Linked DNA regions of Homo sapiens: all the other regions are linked to region 3. The links are contacts of gene promoters, found by promoter capture Hi-C in blood cells and fetal thymus (Javierre and others, 2016). All regions are on one chromosome and are shown on one strand. The core of a region is centred on a gene start or on the middle of the fragment in contact, and the rest is flanking DNA. Distances in the headings are between cores, read along the strand shown. Region 1 holds the start of CES4A (carboxylesterase 4A). Region 2 holds the start of ZDHHC1 (zDHHC palmitoyltransferase 1). Region 3 holds the start of NOL3 (nucleolar protein 3). Region 4 has its middle 9.0 kb from the start of CBFB.

What was found. Contacts are between HindIII fragments. The CHiCAGO score rates a contact against its expected background, and 5 or more counts as called.
Region 1: a contact is called between the fragment with the promoter of CES4A here and the fragment with the promoter of NOL3 in region 3, in 17 of 17 cell types (endothelial precursors, fetal thymus, non-activated CD4 T cells and 14 more). The highest score is 13.3, in endothelial precursors.
Region 2: the fragment with the promoter of ZDHHC1 here is called in contact with the fragment with the promoter of NOL3 in region 3 in 1 of 17 cell types (erythroblasts); the score reaches 5.5 in erythroblasts.
Region 4: a contact is called between a fragment that was not itself captured here and the fragment with the promoter of NOL3 in region 3, in 15 of 17 cell types (erythroblasts, naive CD4 T cells, non-activated CD4 T cells and 12 more). The highest score is 10.1, in erythroblasts.

What each region holds. Positions count from the first base shown.
Region 1 is chr16:66,987,216-66,990,484 of GRCh38, forward strand. It overlaps CES4A (carboxylesterase 4A), which reads left to right and starts at 1,374. Exons shown (of 14, transcript NM_001364782.1): 1 at 1,374-1,615. The coding sequence starts at 1,558. The HindIII fragment of the contact is 37,432 bases long and covers 1-3,269 here.
Region 2 is chr16:67,414,823-67,417,905 of GRCh38, forward strand. ZDHHC1 (zDHHC palmitoyltransferase 1) reads right to left here and starts at 1,655. Exons shown (of 12, transcript NM_001323627.2): 1 at 1,349-1,655. LOC124903702 (a long non-coding RNA gene) reads left to right here and starts at 1,081. Exons shown (of 2, transcript XR_007065093.1): 1 at 1,081-1,321. RefSeq lists a silencer at 1,322-1,711 and an enhancer at 1,544-2,201. The HindIII fragment of the contact is 9,596 bases long and covers 1-3,083 here.
Region 3 is chr16:67,169,086-67,171,999 of GRCh38, forward strand. It overlaps NOL3 (nucleolar protein 3), which reads left to right and starts at 1,453. Exons shown (of 4, transcript NM_001276309.3): 1 at 1,453-1,489. It overlaps HSF4 (heat shock transcription factor 4), which reads left to right. Exons shown (of 13, transcript NM_001374675.1): 11 at 1-16; 12 at 194-263; 13 at 546-856. The coding sequence ends at 700. RefSeq lists enhancers at 510-559, 1,050-1,199 and a silencer at 1,410-1,699. The HindIII fragment of the contact is 13,408 bases long and covers 1-2,914 here.
Region 4 is chr16:67,018,512-67,021,870 of GRCh38, forward strand. It overlaps the pseudogene RN7SL543P. Among named protein-coding and RNA genes, the nearest start is that of CBFB, 9.0 kb to the right of the region's middle. The HindIII fragment of the contact is 5,986 bases long and covers 1-3,359 here.

The sequences.
Region 1 (3,269 bases), core at 124-2,623, 180 kb before region 3:
ACTGTGGGAGAGGAGTCCCAAATAAAGAGCATCTCCGAAGAACTCAGAAAATTGACTGTGAAAGAAGGAGGTTTAACCATCTGTCAGGCCTATAGAGCAAGAGGCTGTGGGCCAAGGGAGAAGTTCTCTGTTCCCCTGCCTTTTCCCCTCCCCAGCACAGAAGCCCAACAGACCCTCTTTTCACAAAGATGGGCCAGGACCCCAGACTTTGGGGGTACACGAGAGAGGAAACATCTTACCTTTTTTTTGTTCTTTGAGATGGAGTCTCACTCTGTCGCCCAGGCTGGAGTACAGTGACGCCATCTTGGCTCACTGCAAGCTCCGCCTCCTGGTTTCAAGCAATTCTCTTGCCTCAGCCTCCTGAGTAGCTGGAACTACGGGCGCGTGCCACCACGCCCGGATAATTTTTTGTATTTTTAGTAGGGACGGGGTGTTAGCCAGGATGGTCTCGATCTTCTGACCTCGTGACCCGCCTGCCTCAGCCTCCCAAAGTGTTGGGATTACAGGCATGAGCCACCGTGCCTGGCCTATTTATTTTTGAGACAGGGTCTCACTCTGTCACCCAGGCTGGAGTGCAGTGGCCCGATCTCGGCTCACTACAACCTCCGCCTCCCAGGTTCAAGCCATCCTCCTGCCTCAGCCTCCTGAGTAGCTGGGACTACAGGCACACACTACCACGCCCAGCTAATTTTTGTATTCTTTGTTTTAGTAGAGACGGGGTTTCACCATGTTGGCCAGGCTGGTCTCGAACTCCTGACCTCAGGTGATCCACCTGCCTCAGCCTTCCAAAGTGCTGGTATTACAGGCATGAGCCACCACACCCAGCCCCATCTTACCTTTGACTGAAGATGGGACTGCTGTCTCCTTGCTTCCACCTCCCACACTTGCTCCTGTGGCTCCAAACTTCAAACAGGATCTTTCTTTGCCTGGCCCACTCCTCCTCATCCTTTACTTAGAAGATTAGATCTTTTCCAGGGAATCTTCATTCCCACCACCCGGCTCTGGGCTCACTCCTCGGGTGCCCCTCTGGGCTCCCACATTACGGTTGCTTTCAGGTCCAGCTTCCGCATGTGGACTATGAAACTGTGAGGACAGCCAAGGGTCAGCATGTGCGAGGAAAGGCAGGGAAGAGGCTAGACGAGGCACTGGGGAGCAGGGAGGCCCAAGACCCTTAAATCCACAGACAGGAAGCCCTGGCTGAAGGGCCAAGTAACCAGGTGTTCTACTTCAATCTTGGCACCCACTGTATGCTTAGACCTTGACTCACACATGTTCAGCTTTAAGCCACTGCACAGATGAGCAAACGGGGCGGAGATTGCAGGCTGATCAGTTTGAAGAGCCAAGATCATCTAGCGTGACCTGTTGCCCAAGGCAGAGACAAGGCTGTGGGCTGGTCAGAAGCTGGTTACAATTCCTCCCGCCCCAGTACTTGCTGGCAGGGATTAAGAGCAGATAAAAGTGTGCTCACACACTGTAGACACGGCTACCATGCCATCCACAGTGTTGCCATCCACAGTGTTGCCATCACTCCTGCCCACAGCAGGAGCTGGCTGGAGCATGAGGTGGATTCTGTGCTGGAGCCTCACCCTCTGCCTGATGGCGCAGACGGCCTTGGGTAAGACCCCCACCCCTTCCCGAGAGTGTCAGGCAAGACGGGCACAAGGGATGGAGGGACAGGCCCCAGTTCAACCTCTCCTGGGGACAGCAGGGCAGGAGCACTTAGACAAGGCCTGGGCAAATGGAGGGTAGGGTTTCAGGACACTAAACCATCTACCAGCTGGGAGTCTGGACAAGTCCTTTAGCCTCCCTGAACCTCAGGGCTTCTCTGTATTTCCTGCCTCCCGGCACAGGTGAAGGGGTCTGAGAACATGGCCACATCTTTTCTTCCTTCCCACCTTTTTCCTTCCTTCCATCCTTCTTTCCTTCTCCTAAGCAGGAGGCCTGTCTCTGCCCCCTCTCTGCTACATGAACCTCTTTACCACCTTCAAATTTCTCCCCAATATCTTTCTTTTTAAAATGAGTACTACACTTTTTACTGTGAAAACAATCTAATACATTAACAAAAGTTTACTGAGGTATAAGATGTATACAGCAAGGTGCACACATCTTCACTGTATAATTATATCTATTATACTAATTATTATATATATATATATGGTAACCATTATCCAGATCAACATCTAGAACATTTCCAGTGGGTTAGGCATGGTAGCTCATGCCTGTAATTCCAGCACTTTGAGAGGCTGAGGTGGGAGGATTACTTGAGCCCAGGAGTTTGAGACCAGCCTGGGCAAATAGTGAGACCTAGCCTGGGTAAATAGACTCTGTCTCTATTTTTAAAAAACATTTTTTAAAAAGTTTTTTTAACTTACAAGGATACACCTGTAATCCCAGCACTTTGGGAGGCCGAAGCGGGCAGATCACCTGAGGTCAGGAGTTTGAGACCAGCCTAACCAATATTATTACCCCGTCTCTACTAAAAATACAAAACTAGCCAGGCATGGTGGCACATGCCTGTAATCCCAGCTACTCAGGAGGCTGAGGCAGGAGAATCGCTTGAAGCCAGGAGGCAGAGGTTGTAGTGAGCCGAGATCGTGCCATTGCACTCCAGCCTGGGCAACAAGAGCGAAACTCTATCTCAAAAAAAAAAACAAAAAACCATCTCCAGCGTCCCATGTACTCCTTCTCAGTCAATACTCAAAGTTACCACTAGTCTGACCTCTATCATAAATAAATTTTGCCCATATATACATATATCCATTATTTTAAATTTGAAGGAAACTTTGCTTACTCCGCTTTTAACATTTTGGCGCATTTTCTTTTCATCTTTTCTTTTTTTTTTTTTTTTTTTTTGAGACGGAGTCTCGCCCTGTCACCCAGACTGGTGTGCAATGGTGCCATCTCCGCTCACCGCAACCTCCACCTCCCGGGTTCAAGCAATTCTCCCCACCTCAGCCTCCCAAGTAGCTGGGACTACAGGCGTACACCACAAGCCCAGCTAATTTTTGTATTTTTTTAGTGGAGATGGGGTTTCGCCATGCTGGCCAGGCAGGTCTCGAAATTCTGACCTGAGATGATCCACCTGCCTCGGCCTCCCAAAGTGCTGGGACCGCAGGCATGAGCCACCATGCCCAACCTCTTTTCACCTTTTCATTGTGTATTTATCTATAGCTGTACTATTAGAATGTACACAATTTTAAGCCAAATGGGGTGGCTCATGTCTATAATCCCAGCATTTTGGGAGTCTGATGTGGGAGGATTGCTTAAGC
Region 2 (3,083 bases), core at 405-2,904, 250 kb after region 3:
TCACAACCATGCTGCTCAGCAGCCAGAGTGAAGTGAGCTTTTCAAACGTGAAACTCATCCAAACTCTTCTTTGGGAGGCCAAGGTGGCTGGATCACCTGAGGTCAGGAGTTCAAGACCAGCCTGGCCAACATGTTGAAACCCCGTTTCTACTAAAAATACAAAAATTAGCTGGGTGTGGTGGCAGGCGCCTGTAATCCCAGACTTGGGGGGCTGAGGCAGGAGAATCGCTTGAACCCGGGAGGTGGAGGTTGCAGTGAGCCGAGATTGTGCCATTGCAGTCCAGCCTGGGTGACAGAGCGAGACTCCATCTGGAAAATAAAAATAAAAATAAACAAAAAATAAAAAACTCTTCTGCCGCTTGCAGTGGCTCACACCTGTAATCCCAGCACTTTGGGAGGCTGAGGCAAGAGGATCCCTTGAGACCAGGAGCTCGAGACCAGCCTGGGCAAAATAGTAAGACCTCATCTCTACCAAAACCTTAAAAAATTAGCTGAGCGTGGTGGCGGGTATCTGTAGTCTCAGCTACTTGGGAGGCTGAGGCGGGAGGATCGCTTGAGCCCGGGAGCCGGAGCCTGCGGTGACCCATGTTCACACCACAGCACTCCAGCCTGGGTGACAAAGGGAGACCTTGTCTCAAAAAAATAAAAAATTGGCTGGGAACGGTGGCTCACACCTGTAATCCCAACGCTTTCGGAGGCCGAGGCGGGTGGATCACCTGAGGTCAGGAGTTCGAGAACAGCCTGGCCAACATGGTGAAACCCCGTCCCTACTAAAAATATAAAACTTAGCCGGGCGTGGCGGCGGGCGCCTGTAATCCCAGCTACTCCAGAGGCTGAGGCAGCAGAATGGCTTGAACCCGGGAGGCGGAGGTTGCAATGACCCGAGTCGTGCCACTGCGCTCCATCCAGCCTGGGTGACAAGAGCGAAACTCCGTCTCAAAGAAAAAACTAAAACTCTTCCCATGGTTTCCTTTTAAAACAGACCCTCCATGACCAACCCCTCCATTTCAATACCAGAGAGCCTAACCCGACCTGAAATCACTTTAGTCATGTATGACATCCGCTTCCCAGCCCCCTTCCTTAATGCTCTGGGTTCTGGAGACAGACCACGTCTGTTGGGAGTCCTCTGTGCCCACGCCTGGCACAGAGCCTGGCAAAGAGTAAGCGCTCAAGGAAGATCTGTGAACTTGATGCATGCTAAAAGGAAGCCCCGCGCTCTGCCGGGGCCCTGGAACTCAGGCCACCGGCTCCAGGCGGAAGCGAGCCCAAAGCCGGCCAGGCGGCAGCATCCGCTACCCCGTGGCTCAAGCCAGGCTCCGAGGTGAGAAACCGGGCGGGGACTCCTCACCTGCGCGCCGCGGAGGCCGTGCCAGATGGGCCCTGCCAAAGTCAGCCAGAGGTTCGGGCCCCACGCCTGGCCTTCCACCCTCCCCGGGGCAGCCGCGCCTCAGACCCTCGCGGTAGGGACGGTCCCCGGGACTGGGCGGCAACGCGCCCGGGAGCGGGGCCCCATCCCGGACGGAGACTGGGCCGGTGAGTCCTCGAGCTCTGGCTCTGGCTCCGGCTCCGGCTCCGGCTCCGGCTCCGGCTCCGGCTCCAGCAGGCTGGAGGGGCGGCCAGGCCAGACCCAGACTGGCTGGGCCTCGTCCGGCGCTGGGCCCGTTCCCCTGACAACGGCGCGGGCTACGGCGCCCCACAGCGGCCAAACCGCGCTGCGTCACTCCGCGCCGGTCCCCCGGCCAGGGCGGGGCTTGCCAGGGACCCTCTTGGTGCCCCAGTCGGCCCATTCCCAGATTCTTCCTAACCTTTCGTCTAGAAAATCCGCTTTTCCCTACTCCCGAGTCACAGCTTGTCTCCCCGAAATCCTAACATCTCAAAAGCGCCCCCTTCCAGTTTCTATCCTGAGACCACCGCTCTCAAGAAGAGACCTCCCCCAACCCCAGTCAACCTGCACACTTCAATGAGCGTATGTGCTGGAACATCCATGATATCCCGACCCTTCCGGGAGCTTACAGGTTAAGAGGCAAACAGATCTAGACAAATAAATTACACCACTAAAAATGCAGGTACCCCAGAATATAAAGCGAGAAGCGTAAGAGCTTAAAATAAGCAGCACAAAATATCTCATTTATTTATTGCCTTTAAATCAAGCAAAAATCAAGCCCCAATCTTCCAGGCTGATGGGAAATTCAGTCTTTTTCTATTTTTTAAACTGGTCTCTGTTACCCAGGCTGGAGTGCAGTGGCACGATCACGGCTCTCTGCAGCCTCGAACTCCTGGGCTCAGGCGATCCTCCCGCCTCAGCCTCCAGAGTAGCTAGGACTACAGGCGAACACCACCACGCCCGACTAATTTTCGCATTTTTTTGTAGAGGCGTGGTTTTGCCATGTTGCCCAGGCTGGTTTCGAACTCCTGAACTCAAGCGACCCGCCCACCTCAGCCTCCAAAAGTGCTAGGATTACAGGCGTGAGCCCCTGCCCGGCCGGGAAATTCAGTCTCAGTCTCCACTGTACTCCTTTTAGCTAGGTAATTCCAAAGGACTCATGTTTTCCTATAGCAAAAAACAACAATCAAAAACAAATAAGCAAAAAACTCTCTGGTCAGGGTTTTGTCTGGTACTGAGGCCACAACCATTGCTCCAGTCCACAAAGATTTTCAGGTTTGGGCTCTATGAGGCCATCCCTGCCTGAGGCCCCTGCCTCTCCCTGGGGCTGCCAGGGACAGACACCTGCTTCCTCTGCTCCATGGCCTGCAGCCTCCCTTCCCTTTCTCTACCTGGGAGACTTCCCTGCTAACTTGGTTTCCCTAAAAGTCCCCTCTCCTCTTCTCCTTGTGGACACTCAGAATGGAATCTTCTATGAGCTCAGGCTTTCTCAAAAGACAGGAAGACACTTTGTCTTCTGCTATCTGTCCTGTGCGCATCTCCAAGGCAGATATGACAGATAGGGAAAGAAAACATCCTTATCTCTAAAATGTATAAGTCACAAGCATACTTATTGTATGTTTTATTAGGCAACATAACTACTCCTTCTCTGTCACATGACAGGTGTGTGGGTCCTTGTGCAAGTGACATAACCTATTAC
Region 3 (2,914 bases), core at 203-2,702:
CATGGAGCTGTCCTTGGTAAGAAGTGGGTCGGGGAGGGCAGAGGCCAGGGGTGGCTGAGTCAAGCCCTCTGGTCCATAGCTGTTCTCTGTGAGCCAAAGCCGTGTCTCTAGAAGAATTGTCACAGTGATTTCCCAGCTGTCCCCCTCAGCTGCTAGGTCCCCTCCCCAGCTGCTCCCTGCGGTTCTCACGCAGATGCAGCCCTTGGTTCCAGAGCGGGGTGAGCCTGAGCTGGCGGTCAAGGGGTTAAATTCTCCAAGCCCAGGTAATGGTTGTGATGACTCCTACCTGGGAGGACGCCGTGATTGGGCTGAGCTACCTTGATTGAGTGAGGGGGCAATCTGCAATTTGCAGGGAAATCCTGAGTTCAGGCTGCACTGCAGAGCGTTCCTTGAGCCACCCATGCCCTCACCATTGGGCGAGAGTGGGGAGGTTAAGAATGGATGTTTTATCCTAACTGAGCAGAAGGCAGGCGGGCAGGGCTCTCCTTCCCTGAAGAAAGGAGGGGGAACATTTCCCCTGGTGAGCGCAGTCCCACTTCTCCTAGGGAAGGACCCCACGCTCGGGGCCCCACTCCTGCTGGATGTCCAGGCGGCCTTGGGAGGCCCAGCCCTGGGCCTGCCTGGGGCTTTAACCATTTATAGCACTCCTGAGAGCCGGACTGCCTCCTACTTGGGCCCGGAAGCCAGTCCCTCCCCCTAAGACCCCGCGCCTCTGAAGGGGCTTGGAACCAGTCCGCCGCTGCACATCCTTCTTGGCTTCCTGGCGCCCCCTATCGGGGGTGAGCGAAGCCCCCACTACTAAATGGCCTCTCTCCACTACCCCGACTATCCCTGCACATAAACTCCGTTTTTTTTTTTTCTGTTTCTGGTCTCTTTTCTCTATCGACCAGGGAGCACAGGAGTTATGGGTGGGGGGTGATTTTGCATTTGTAGAAGCGTCCAGATACTAGGTTTTTAATAGAGGAACCCCAGGAGGGTGGAGGTGCTTGGGGATCCGGTGCCTAGCTCCCTTGCTTAGGCCCGGGTCCAGGGCTGGCGCGGGGCCGCTGCAATCTCTGGGAAGCGGGGGCTTCTGGGTCGCGCTCAGCTCTGCAATGCATGCGTTCTGTGATCCTGGTGAGTTGGTATCCTTCTCTGAACTTCCTCTGTGACAGGCAGAGAAGAGGGGTCGATGACAAGATAGATGGAAAGCACCTGGAAATTGGCAGGCCCTGAGTGGGCGCTGGACGTGTGGGGCCGCGGGCCGAACTGCCCCCTCCTGGCCTCATCTCCTGGTGCGCCCCGGGTGGGGAGGGAAAGCTGACTACATGCACGTCCCCAGCCAGCGCGCGGCCTCCGCGGTGTGGCTCCTAGTGCCCGGGGAAGAACCCTCACCCTCCCTATTCCCAGCAGCCCTGGCCGCCCCGCCCCCGCCGCAGCTGCTGCACCCACCCCCACCCTGCCCGGCCCTTTCTGCACCGTCATCTCCTGCCCCGCCGAGGCTTGACCCGTGAGTGGGGACGCCCAAAACGGGCCAGACCGGGAGCCCCACTCCCGGCTGTGGGAGGGAAGGGAAACCGAGATTGGGCAGAATCAGCGCCCCACCACCCGCTGCGGCGCTCGGGGGTCGGGGGGGCGGGGTGGGTAGGACTGTGGGCCCCGCCCTGCCGCAGGACTCTCAAGCTCTGGGACTGGGTGGAGGGAGGTAAGGGGCGGGGGGGGAAAATCCGTGCAGTCGCACATGCGCAAAGGCTCTTCACTGTCCCAAGACCCTGGCTTCCTGGCCAAAGAGCCCGCGCAGCGAGGTGGGGTTGGGGGCTGGGACCCAGCTCCGTGCCCCGCCACCTGGCTCTCTGGGAAGAATCGGACCTGTCACCCTCGAAGGACTGGCCGCTAAATAACTTCGGTATTGAGAGCTGTGTGAGCCTCAAAGGGAGGGCCCAGACCAGCTGGAGTCTCTACCCCCAGACAGGATAAAGGGCAGGACTTGGGGTCATAGGAGGAGGCGGCTAACATGAAAACAACTTAGGTTGGAGAGAAGGAGGGGCCAATCCAATCTGCACCCTCCCTGTGTCTGTCCCGAGTAGGTGCTGTCCCCCTCTCCCTTCCTTTGCCCACCGATTGGAGGGACACTCTGGAAAACTCAGTTGAAGAAAGCGGAGAGTCTGCGTGTACACAGTGCAATGATGTCAGTTAATGCACTAGTGAGGGCATGTGTTGTTCACGGTACACAGAAGAAGGAACCACCAGCCCTTGGGACACTTAGGCATTGGTGTAGACAAGGGAACATTTGAGTCCTGGACGATGGATAGGTCCACGGAGCGGAGGGAGGAGAAAAGGATTCCAGTCTTAGCGATCAGCATCAGCAAAGGCTCCGAGGTGCCAGAGGCATAGTGAGTTCTCCGATCCCTGGCTGGTGGAGGGAAGCTGGGAAGGGCCTGGCTGTCCAGGGTGGTGGGAGGAGGCTAGAGTAGCCAGACCAGATATTTTGGGTTGTCTCTGATGGGCAGTGGGGTGTGGGGGGGAGGTAGATAGGTATTTAGGATGGAATTCTGCTAGACAGGAAAATATAGTTCAGTTCCTCATAGTTCAGGCTGGAGCAAGTAAGATTCCAGTTTTACCACTGAATCTCTGAGCCTGTCTCCTCATCTGTAAAATGGGAACAGCAATCCTAGCCCAGAGGGTTGTCAAAGTCACTGTGCTATCGGGCCTGGCAGAATGGGAGTGAGAGGGGCTCAGAGGGACTGTTACAGGACATGAGGTGACGATGGTGGGGTGGCAAGGCAGGAGCTGATGGAGACTCACTGAGAAGTGGAGAAGCAAGATTCATCACATACGGGACATAAAGGGAGATGGAGGGGCAGGGGGTAGTCCTGGTCTCGGCCTGGTGGGGAAGGGCTTCAATGGGAGGAAGCCAGGGTGTGAAGTGACGGGG
Region 4 (3,359 bases), core at 172-2,671, 150 kb before region 3:
CCTGGCCAACATGGTGAAACCCCGTCTCTACTAAAAATACAAAAAATTAGCTGGGCATGGTGGTGCTCGCCTGTAATCCCATCTACTCGGGGGGCTGAGACAGGAGAATCGCTTGAAACGTTGAAACCGGGAGGCAGAGGTTGCAATGAGCAAGATCGCACCACTGCACTCCAGCCTGGGTGACAGAGTAGGACTCCATCTCAAAAAAAAAAAAAAAAAGAATAAAGAAAAAAGAAAAGGAGGCAGGCCACAGGCATTTACTTTTTTTTTTTTTTTTTTTTGAGACGGAATCTTGCTCTGTCGCCCAGGCTGGAGTGCGGTGGAACGATCTCGGCTCACTGCAGCCTCCACCTCCCAGGTTTAAGCTATTCTCGTGCCTCAGCCTCCCAAGTAGCTGGGATTACAGGCATAAGCCACCACACCCAGCTGATTTTTGTATTTTTAGTAGAGATGGGGTCTCGCCATGTTGGCCAGGTTGGTCTAGAACTCCTGACCTCAGATGACCCACCTGCCTTGGCCTCCGAAAGTGCTGGGCTTACAGGTGTGAGCCACTGCACCTGGTTTCAGGCACCCTTTCAGCTCATTGTATGGCATTTTGGCTAGACCTTATGTGAACTCAAATTGTTATCCTGTGCTTCCCTTACTGGCAACGTTTACAGATGGCTTTGTATCAACCAAAGCGTTGTACAACTCATAGCATTTCAGAGCTAGAAGGGACCATAAACAGTGTCATAGCCACCGTTCTTTGAACACTTACAACTTTGTGCTAGACACTAACCCAGGTACCTTCTGATGTTTTTGCCTGCACGGTACAGCCATTCCTTTTCCCGTGACACCACCCTGTCCTCGGCAATTCACCGTGTCCACACCACAGCTCAGGGATGACCAGATAACCCAGACTTGGACTATTAAGCTCAATCTCAAGATTTTTGTAGAAACATCAGGAAAGAGAATGGGTACCACTTGAGGGTGAGTCAGCATGTGAAGGAAGGTAAAACGGAAAACTAGCCAGGTACAGTGGCATGTGCCTGCAGTCCCAGCTACTCGGGAGGCTGAGACGGGAGGATTGCTTGAGCCCAGGAGTTCTGGGCTGTAATTCACTATGTTGATTAGGTGTCTGCACTAAGTGTGGCATCGATATGGTGATCTCCTAGGAACGAGGGACCACCAGGTAGCCTAAGGAGGGGTGAACCAGCCCAGGTCGAAAATGGAGCAGGTCAAAACTCCTGTGCTAATCAGTAGTGGGATCGTGCCTGTGAGTAGCTGTTGCACTCCAGCCTGGGCAATATAGCAAGACCTCATCTCCAAAAAAAAAAAAAAAAAAAGGAATAGTGAAATGAAATAGTTCACACTGAGAAACAGCCTTGAACGAATAAAATAAAATAAAATAGGCTGGGCGCTGTGGCTCACACCTGTAATCCCAGCACTTTGGGAGGCCGAGGAAGGCGGATCACTTGAGGCCAGGAGTTCAAGACCAACCTGAGCAGCAATATAGCAAGACACCCCCACCTCTAAAGAAAAAAAAAATTAAAGAGTTAAGTGACTGCATTTCTTCAACTGCAGGACTTCTCTGGGATCTCTCTCTCTCTGAGTCTACCTGGCTATATGCCCTTGAATGAGTCCAGTCACCTGTTCTGAGTCTCAATTTCAAGAGCTACAAAATAAGACAGTAATTATTTCCCTCTTTATCCTTTATTTATTTATTTAATTTTTTATTTTTTATTTTTTGAGATGGAGTCTTGCTCTGTCGCCCAGGCTGGAGTGCAGTGGCACAATCTCGGCTCACTGCAAGCTCCGCCTCCCGGGTTCACGCCATTCTCCTGCCTCAGCCTCCCGAGTAGCTGTGACTACAGGCACCCGCCACTACGCCTGGCTAATTTTTGTATTGTTAGTAGAGACGGGGTTTCACTGTGTTAGCCAGGATGGTCTCCATCTCCTGACCTCGTGATCCACCCGCCTTGGCCTCCCAAAGTGCTGGGATTACAGGCGTGAGCCACCGCGCCCGGCATTTTTTTTTTTTTTTTTTTTTGAGATGGTGTCTCGCTGTGTCACCCAGGCTGGAGTGCAGTGGCACGATCTTGGCTCACTGCAACCTCTGCCTCCTGGGGTCAAGCGATTCTACCGCCTCAGCCTCCAGAGTAGCTGGGACTACAGGCATGTGCCACGCCCAGCTATTTTTTTGTATTTTTAGTAGAGACAGGGTTTCACCGTGTTAGCCAGGATGGTCTCAATCTCCTGACCTCGTGATCCCCCCACCTCGGCCTCCCAAAGTGTTGGGATTACAGATGTGAGTCACCATGCCCGGCCTTCCCTCTTTATCTTGAAGAAATTAAGGAGAGGCCAGCGAGAGAGTGTTTGGAAAATTGCTTTATGCAGTGGCTTGTGCCTGTAACCCCAGCACTTTCGGAGGCCAAGGTGGTAAGATTACTTGTGCCCAGAAGTTCGAGACCAGCCTGAGCAACATAACAAGACCCCGTCTCTGGAAGAAAGGAAGGAAGGAAGGAAGGAAGGAAGCAAGCAAGCAAGCATGGATTAGCCAGGTGGAGTGGTGTGTGCCTGTGGTCTCAGCTATTGTGAGACTGAGGCAGGAGGATCACTTGAGCCCAGGAGTTTGAGGCTGCAGCGAGCAATGATGCCACCACTGCACCCCAGCCTGGCTAACAGAATGTGACTCTATATTGAAAAAAGAAAAAGTAACAATTAGCCAGACGTGGTGGTGTGCACTTGTAGTCCCAACTACTCAGGAGGCTGAGATGAGGATCGCCTGAGCCCAGGAGTTGGAAACTGCAATCAGCTAGGATCATGCCACTGCACTTGACTCAGGAAGACCCTGTCAAAAAAAAAAAAAAAGAAGAAAAAGAAAAGAAAGAAAGAAGAGAGAGAGAGAGAAAGAGGAAGAAAGAAAGAAAGAGAGAAAGAAATTCACTGAAGGGAAACCTGGGTTGTTCATCTTTGTGTCCATCTCCGTCACCAACACTACCTAAACTGCAAAGCATGCTGGGAGCTCCCACTGGGCAGGAGGGAGCAAGATGAAGTTAGCATAAGCCGGGACTAGGGAAGCTATCAAGCCTGTGGGATGCCTTTGAGGTAGTTGAGTCCAGTCTTGTCTCATAGGCATTGGTGAGGGCACGCTGAGGGGCAATCATTCTGCCCAGCATAGTTTAGAAAGCCTTGTCAGAGGCCTCTGAATTACATTTTTTTTTTTTTTTTTTTTCTGAGACAGTGTCTCACTCCATTGCCCAGGCTGGAATGCAGTGGCACGATCTCAGCTCACTGCAACCTCCACCTCCCAGGTTCAAGTGATTCTCCTGCCTTAGCCTCCCAAGTAGCTGGGATTACAGGCATGTGCCACCACCCCC